Regions from separate parts of the Homo sapiens genome. Here all the other regions are linked to region 1. Evidence: promoter capture Hi-C in 16 types of primary human blood cells and fetal thymus (Javierre and others, 2016). All regions are on one chromosome and are shown on one strand. Each heading gives the region's core, a stretch centred on a gene start or on the middle of the fragment in contact. The rest is flanking DNA. Distances are from core to core; before and after follow the strand shown.

Region 1 (2,700 bases), core at 1-2,500:
CTCTTCCGCAGCCGTGACCCCTCTCCTATCCAGCAGCCTCCCAGCAGCTCCGCTCCACCCCGCCTGCCAGCAACAGGAAGCCCTGGTGAGACCAAAGGCTCAGCGGTGCCACCAGCTCATCCGGAGATTATTCTGCCTTGGTCTGGGCTGTAGCGACGCTGGCAACCTGCCGGGAAGTGGCCATGGCCTCGGGCAACAGCGAAGTTTAGCCCAACTCCCTTCCCAGCCTCCACCCACACAAGCCTGAGAGACAGGCCAGGGTGTGGCCCCATGTCCTCCCCCTCTGGAGGGTGAAAAACAAAACTCCCCAGGCCAGAGGAAGCCAGGGAGTGGAGGGATGGGGTGAGCGCCAAACACAGACCTAGCCCTGTTCCCTTCCATGCTTCATGGAGGGATCACCCCTTCTAGATCACCCCTTCTGTCCCTGCCAAGGAAGGCTGCCAGATGGGCTCAGGCAGAGCCATGTGGCCATGCAGACTCCAAGAAAAGGAGAAGCTGGAGGAGGAGGACCAGGAGGAACAACAGGAGGAGGAGGAGGAGGAGGAGGAGGAGGAGGAGTCTGATTCTTCCCCCACTTCACAGCCTGGAGCTTCCAGCCTAACTTCCTGGGAAAGGCAGTTTGCATCACTGCTGGGGAAGAATGGGTTAAAGTCAGCCCCCTTTGCCCCATCCTTTTCCCTTCTTGGCTTCTAGGCTCCTAATTAGCTCCCTGTGGAGGCCCTGGGTTCATAAACTGGCTCAAAGTGGGGTACAAGATACCTGCACAGGGTGGGTGGTGAGCAGAGGATGGGCCAGGCCATCTTCTGAGACCACTGCCCCCAGGCCAAGGATGGGTCACATCCAGACCCCCAGTGGGACCTCCTCCAACATCAGTGACGACAGGAGACTGGCGGCTCGGGGAGGGGCAGGACTGCTCCCTGTTCAACCGGGTGGAGGGAACCTCAGCTAGGGGCCTCTCTCCCTCTGGGCAGCGTGGGACAGGCCCCACCATGCTCCGCTGACACCTGGCACACCCCAGGGAGGGCCCCTTCCTTACCTGGGGCCAGCTGTGGGCACTTGTGGCCATGGCCTCCTCGGGGCCGGACTCTCCAAGTGGCCTCCAGGAGGGCGGTGCAGGGCAGCGGCGGCCTCCGCCGTTCCCTCCCGCTTTTCTTCTGCACGGGGGCCTGGGGCTGGTGGCGGCTTCAGACTAATCTAACTCCAGAAAAGAGAGAAGAAAACAGTGGGATGGAGTCTGCGCGCCAGTGAGTGGAAAAACAGCCTCCCGGCGCCACCAGGCAGAGGAGGGCGGGCCCCGAGGGCGGCGCGAGAGGAGAGGAGCCGAGAGGAAGTTGAGATGCCTGTTCTGCAGCTGCTGCGCGTCCCACCGACCCGCTGCTCGCCGTCCCTGGGCCGTGCTGGCCCTCCGCCCTCGGCCCAGACCCGGACCGGGCCATGCTCCACACCAATGGGACCAGTCGGGAGGGCCACGTGGGGATGTGGAGGCATTGGGGAGATCTGACCCAGACCTGCCCCCCATGACAGTTTCAAGAGCACCCCACGTACTTGACCCCCGCTGGGCAGAAGCTACCAAAGGAGACCCCGCGAGGGTCAAGGGAGGGTGTCGTCAGGCCCGCGCTGAGCCCTGCAGGATGCTCAGGGCCAGGGCCCCACCCTCTACTGGCCCTTCTCCCTCAGAGTTGTCCATTGACTGGACAAACCATCCCCAATGCTGACTCTTTGACCTATAGTCAGCTAACTCCCCGGGACCTGCTTCGGATCCCTGGAGGGCTGAGGATTGAATTCAGGAGCCTAGGGATTCTCCGGGTCCTGCAGGCAGAGCTCCAACTGGTGGGTGAAAGTTACAAGGAGGCAGGTTTCTGAAGGAAGCCCTGTGTAATAATCAGAGCTGCCCAGCCTGTATCTAAAAGTGGTCAAGATGCGGGCTGAAGCGTCACGGGTCAGGAATGCTGCACAGGAGAGTCTACGGACAGGCTAGATGACCCTTAGCATGGAGGGAGAGGACCCCCGACATCTGTCAGCTCTGCAGTGCTCGTGGTTCCGTCATGGTGGAGCTGCCGAGTGACCCGCTGGCCTCCCTGAGCTGGGCTTGACCATATGTACGAAGGAAAGAAAAGGTACCAAGTTCTGCTTGTTTATTTGTTTGTTTCAGATCCCAGCATGTGCTAAACACAGTCCCAGATCCTTCCCTAAAAGTTATCTTCCTCTATCCTTACCACAATCCTGAAAATCAGGTCTTTTTTAAAAAATAATTTTTTCATTTTAAAAAAATTATAAATCTTCTCTTTATTCTTCTTCTTCTTCTTATTATTATTATTACTTTACAGAGACAGAGTCTTGCTATGTTGCCCAGGCTGGTCTCCAACTCCCAGGCTCAAGTGATCCTCCCTCCTTGGCCTCCCAAGTGCTGGGATTACAGGCATGAGCCACTCCGCCTGGCCAAGCAGGTCTTCTAATATCCATTTTATAGACAGACACACTGAGGCTTAGAGTGGCTGGGTGACTGGCCACAAGTCCTGCAGTGCTGGTATTTGAACTCAGGTGTGCCTGACCCAAAGCTTTGCTCTTCATCACATTTGTACCTCCTGATACCTCCGGGCCTTCTCTTCCCACTGGAAGTGCTGCCACCCACCAACATACACCTTGTTTTTTGCTCATCCTAATCCTCCCTGACTTCAGGGCCCATACCAACTCCTACCT
Region 2 (2,848 bases), core at 278-2,777, 580 kb before region 1:
TTATGACTATAGCCCATTTTCTTTATTATTATTATTATTATTATTGAGATGGACTCTCGCTCTGTCACCCAGGCCAGAGTGCAGTGGCCCAATGTCAGCTCACGATAACCTCTGCCTCCCGGGTTCAACTGATTCTCTTGCCTCAGCCTCTCAAGTAGCTGGGATTATAGGCACACGCTACCACATCCAGCTAATTTTTTAAATCTTCTTTTAGTAGAGACAGGGTTTCACCATGTTGGCCAGGCTGGTCTCAAACTCCTGATCTCAGGTGATCCACCCGCTTCCACCTCCCAAAGTGCTGGGATTACAGGTGTGAGGCACTGTGCTCAGCCCTCATTTCCTTTTGAACACAGAGATGTCACTATTACTGTTTGCTGAATTGACTCTCATTTAGGGTGTTAAACTAAACTTAGCATGGCTTACTAATGGGAGAGAGCTGGTTTGAGCTGCTGGAGCTCACCAGCAGCAGAACACACCAGACCAAGAGGGAACTTACTTGAAACTTAACCACAAACCAATGAACCCAAAAGACCAGCAGGACCACTAAGTTTGCTCCTACAATACATGCTGACCTGTATCTTTCATAATATTTTCATGGTAAATTATAGGATTCTATTTCCTTTTTTCCCTCAAGTTGTTATTGTCAAATCATGCCCAAGTGACAGCTGCCTTTGAGGAACATAGCCTGTTTACGTGAAGCATAAGAAATGCCTTGTGCCGGCCAGGTGCGGTGGCTCACGCCTATAATCCCAGCATTTTGGGAGGCCGAGGCAGGTGGATCACGAGGTCAGGAATTCCAGACCAGCTTGAACAACATGGCGAAACCCCGTCTCTACTAAAAATACAAAAATTAGCTGGGTGTGGTGGCACATGCCTGTAATCCCAGCTATTTAGGAGGCTGAGGCAGGAGAATCACTTGAACCCGGGAGGCGGAGGTTGCAATGAGCCGAGATTGCGCCATTGTACTCCAGCCTGGGCAACAGGAGTGAAACATCCTCTCGGGAAAAAAAAAAAAAGAAAGAAATGCCTTGTGCAGTAGGCATCTGGTCTGAGGTTTCATCTTGTTACATGGTGAACATCAGGACAGAAACAAGTAAGAATCATGCCTGATGTTATTTTCTGCACATTCAAACTTGCTAACAATTTATTGAGATTTTAAGCACTCTGTCTCTGATCTTGGGGAAAAGCTTAGTTGAAGGCATTAGAAAGAGAGGAGGGAGGCGGTAAGAATGGGGTAGCTTTGACAGAACGGTGGGAACCACCTTTAGGGTCTGAAAGGATTTGCAGATCTCTGAGTGTTGTGAAGATTTGCTCGACATTTCATCTGTTCTCTTTTAGATCAAACTGTGTTATTAACCTTGTGCCTGATAAACAACAAGTGCTTCAGGAGGCATATCGGGTGCTGAAGGTGAGGAGGAGAGTGAGATAAATTATCTTTGAACATCAGTAAGAGCTGATGGGTTAAGTCTTGTTTGTTCCCCCTTGAACTAAGAGCTCAAACTCTCTTAATTTATCCATTAAATGAATAAGGGGTGGCAAAAGGGGGAAGGGGCAGGAATACCCCGGATATGGATTACTTTCCCTCTTAGGTTGCAAAAGGTAGTAAATCCGAGGTGACAGTTGTCACTGAATGTGTTAAGGTATTTGCTTTCTTGACTGTCTCTCCTATTTGCTGCTGTACATGATCCTAGAAGAGCATCTGTGGAGCTATAGGAATCTTTGCACTGACTACTAATGATTGCTTTGAATATACTCTCTTCTAGCATGTACAGTGTTTCTCAGGGCTTCTGATTTCTTATCTGTCATGATTTCAGATCTTTGGGAAGTTACAGAAGATGGAACTTTTACATTAACTACTTGCTAAAAGGAAAGCTTGCAGGAGCTCCACAGCCTTCATTGTATCATGAGATGTGTATCTTCATGATAGTAGATGAAATATTCAGCCAGGTGCGGTAGCTCACACCTGTAATCCCAGTGCTGTGGGAGGCCGAGGCGGGCAGATCACCTGAGGTCAGGAGTTTGAGACCAGCTTGGCCAACATGGAGAAACTCTGTCTCTACTAAAAATACAAAAATTAGCTGGGTGTGGTGGTGCGTGCCTGTAATCCCAGCTCCTCGGGAGGCTGAGGTAGGAGAATAGCTTGAACCCAGAAGTCAGAGGTTGCAGTGAGCCAGGATCGTGCCACTGCACTCCAGCCTGGGAGACAGAGCGAGACTCCATCTCAAAAAAAAAAAAAAAAAAAAAAGATTCTAGCTGGGTGGGTGGTACATGCCTGTACTCCCAGCTACTTGGATGCTGAGGCAAGAGGATTGCTTGAGCTCTGGAGTTTGTGTGCAGCTTGGGCAATATAGTGTGATCACTGCCTCTAAAAAAATGTTTTTTTTTTTGAGATGGAGTCTCACTCTGCTGTCCAGGCTGTAGTGCAGTGGCAGGATTTCATCTCACTGCAACCTCCGCCTCCTGGGTTCAAACAATTCTTTTGCCTCAGCCTCCCTAGTAGCTGGGACTACAGGCGTGTGCCACCATGCCCAGCTAATTTTTGTACTTTTAGTAGAGACAAGATTTCACCATATTGGTCAGGCTGATCTTGAACTCCTGATCTCATGATCTGCCTCAGCCTCCCAAAGTGCTGGGATTACAGGCATGAGCCGCTGTGCCTGGCCAAAATTTTTTTTTAAATTGACAACAGATTTTTGAGATTTTTGGTTTACAAAGCTGTCATAGAACTCAAATACAAATATCTATATAGAAATGATTTAATGATTTAGTGATGTCTTTGTTAGTATGTCATTTTACACGCCAGTTCACTATCTCCACCAAAAATGTACTTATAAAAGGTAGAAACACT
Region 3 (2,739 bases), core at 207-2,706, 620 kb before region 1:
GGCTGAGGTGGGAGAAGCGCTTGAGCTTAGGAGTTTGAGACCAGCCTAGAAAACACAGCAAAACCCCATCTCTACAAAAAGTAAAACATTAGTCAGGCCTGGTGATGTGTGCCTGTAGTCCTAGTTACTTGGGATGCTGAGGTGGGAGGATCACTTGAGCCTGGGAGGTTGAGGCTGCAGTGAGCCATGATTGTGCCACTGCAATCAGCCTGGCAACAGAGTGAGACCATGTCACTCAAAAAACAGAACAAAAAACAACAACAAAAAAACCCAAACAAAACAAAACAAAAAACAGGCTAGGCGCTGTGGCTCATGTCTATAATCCCAGCACTTTGGGAGGCCGAGATGGGTGGATCACCTGAGGTCAGGAGTTCGAGACCAGCCTGACCAACATGGCAAAACCTCATCTCTACTAAAAATACAAAATTAGCTGGGCATGGTGGCACACGCCTGCAATCCCAGCTATTTTGGAGGCTGAGGCAGGAGAATCACTTGAACTCAGGAGGCAGGGGTTGCAGTGAGCCAAGATCATGCCATTGCACTCCAGCCAGGGCAACAAGAGCGAAACTCCTTCTCAAACAAAAACAAAAACAAAAAAACAGATTGTTCCACTTACATACTTAAAATCCTCCAGTGACTTCCTGTCATAATTAGAATAAAACCCAACCTCCCTCCTGGCCTCCTGTAATCCCAGCTACAGTGGGAACGGACCACTATGTCCACTCTGACCTCATCAGGGCCCACTCTCCCCTTCACTGGCCATGCTGACCTCTCCCACCTGGAGGCCTTTTTACCTGCTTCTCAGCATGCAACACTTTTCCTGACCCCTTGTTCAAAGCAGCCACCCACTGCCTCTGCCATTTTCTCATCACATCACACAAATTGTGATTGACTTCAAAGCACTTACGAGTCTCTGAACTTATTCACTTGTTAGCCCTCACTAGAATGTAAGCTTCAGAGACCACGGAGCTCGAGTGTCCTGAGAAAGTGAATGGCACATAGTAGGTGCTCAATAAAATCGGTGTTGAAAGAATGAGTGAGCAAATGAATACATAAATGAACTACTCAGGGACCTTATGGAAAAAAAAAAACTGTTTATGCACATCACTGGCATTGCCACAAGCTGAAAAAGAAGGCAGAGTGGGTTGGGAGTAGGGAAGAATGGCGGAGAAGGGTGGGGGGTTGTATCTCTAAATCTGTGTTGTGGGGCCACATAGGGTGGACAGGGGCTGTGAGTTACAGCCTTTAGGTGCTACCCTCAGCCTGGGCTTCCCTCCAGGCCTGGCGCACCTTGATCTTCACTTTGAAAGAGTCGATCAGAAAGACCACCTTGGGGATGCCTTCCAGGGAGGGCAGCTGCCCATCATCTGGCACCTCCAGGTCGAACCTCTGCAGCAGCCAGGCCATGATGAGGAAGAGCTCCTGGCGGGCCAGGATCTCACCTATACAGGAGCGAGGTCCTGCTCCGAAGGGCAAATAGCTTACTGACGGTGAGATGAGCTGGGTCCCCGCTGGATTCAAGAAACGCTCTGCAGGCAAGGAGTGGCATCAGCCAGGGGTTAGGGCAGGAGGGAGGAGAGGCATGGTTCTGCCCTGGTTGAGGGGGAGACATGGCCCTGCCCAGGGAACCCTGATCTGAGGATGTAGCCTTATTATGGGGGAACCCCCGCCTGGGGAGAGATACAGCCCTGCTTTCAGGTAGCCCTTAACGACACAGAGGAAATGAAATATTCAGGAAGGATGGAAAAGAGATGGAATTAACCTATGAAAATAGCACCATCCGAGGGGAGAAGGGACAGACTTAATGGCAGACAGAGGCGTAGAGGGCTTCTTGGAGGGTGAATTTGCAGTTGGTTGGAAGAAGAGCGTGGGAAACCCAGCTGTGAAGAGTTTGGGTAAGTCTATGGCAGGATGAGGGTGTCAACAGGTCCGTATAGTTGGAGCCAAGAGTTTTCTAGCAGCAAGCTTGGCAGAGGTGAAGGGGTACTGGGGTGGTGGAGCAGAGTCCAGGCTCGCTGTGTGGCCCAGGGCGCAGGACAGGACAGACTCACCAGGCATGAACTGATCCGGCTGGTGCCACTCCTTCTCATTGTGATGCAGCGCCCACAGATTGATGATAACTTCTGTGCCCTTGTCCACAGCAAACTCACCGATGCTGCTCCAGAGTGGAAGAGGAAAAGTGGGTCTGGGACTTCGTACTCCCTTCCTTGCTCAGCCTCATGCCCCCTCATTCTTCCGCCGTGAGGAAAATGCCCTTTACTCCCTCATTCCCACTCACTCATGTTTTCCTCAGCTTCTGCCAGATCAAACCTAAATCCAGCCCTTCTCCATCCCTTCCCTCCTAACAGGCGCTTCTGTCTGAACACCTGTGTCTGTGGACTTTGGTGTCTGGCAGTGTATGTGGGTGTGCGTTTGGAGCTGCAGCGCATGTTATGTGCGTGCTGCAGCTGGTTGGAACATGGAGCTCCCAGCCTTTCATCCCAGACCACATGTCTCTGAGGGCAGCAGGAAGCTCCTCTGGGAAGTCAGGCAGATCTGTGGATGAGTCAATGCGTGTCTGTAGGTGGTAGAGACATGGAGCCACGGGGCTGGGGGCAGGATGATTTTTATATTTAATTAATTAATTATTTATTTTGAGACAGAGTCCCGCTCTGTCACCCAGGCTGGAGTGCAGTGGTGCAATCTTGGCTCACTGCAACCTCCGCCGCCTTGGTTCAAGTGATTCTCCTGCCTCAGCCT

Evidence for each region. Contacts are between HindIII fragments. The CHiCAGO score rates a contact against its expected background, and 5 or more counts as called.
Region 2: a fragment that was not itself captured here is called in contact with the fragment with the promoter of CALHM2 in region 1 in 1 of 17 cell types (neutrophils); the score reaches 5.9 in neutrophils.
Region 3: a contact is called between a fragment that was not itself captured here and the fragment with the promoter of CALHM2 in region 1, in 1 of 17 cell types (endothelial precursors). The highest score is 5.5, in endothelial precursors.

The regions. Positions count from the first base shown.
Region 1 is chr10:103,451,120-103,453,819 of GRCh38, forward strand. It overlaps CALHM2 (calcium homeostasis modulator family member 2), which reads right to left and starts at 1,251. Exons shown (of 4, transcript NM_015916.5): 1 at 1,037-1,251; 2 at 1-166. It overlaps CALHM1 (calcium homeostasis modulator 1), which reads right to left. Exons shown (of 2, transcript NM_001001412.4): 2 at 2,121-2,700. It overlaps LOC124902494 (a long non-coding RNA gene), which reads left to right and starts at 1,324. Exons shown (of 2, transcript XR_007062275.1): 1 at 1,324-2,117. RefSeq lists enhancers at 1-293, 242-862, 863-1,484 and a silencer at 1,323-1,652. The HindIII fragment of the contact is 3,298 bases long and covers 1-2,556 here.
Region 2 is chr10:102,873,254-102,876,101 of GRCh38, forward strand. AS3MT (arsenite methyltransferase) reads left to right here. Exons shown (of 11, transcript NM_020682.4): 6 at 1,339-1,408. It overlaps BORCS7-ASMT (BORCS7-ASMT readthrough (NMD candidate)), which reads left to right. Exons shown (of 15, transcript NR_037644.1): 10 at 1,339-1,408. Among named protein-coding and RNA genes, the nearest start is that of AS3MT, 5.2 kb to the left of the region's middle. The HindIII fragment of the contact is 685 bases long and covers 1,186-1,870 here.
Region 3 is chr10:102,829,457-102,832,195 of GRCh38, forward strand. CYP17A1 (cytochrome P450 family 17 subfamily A member 1) reads right to left here. Exons shown (of 8, transcript NM_000102.4): 7 at 2,052-2,155; 8 at 1,075-1,529. The coding sequence ends at 1,246. Among named protein-coding and RNA genes, the nearest start is that of CYP17A1-AS1, 1.8 kb to the right of the region's middle. The HindIII fragment of the contact is 1,013 bases long and covers 951-1,963 here.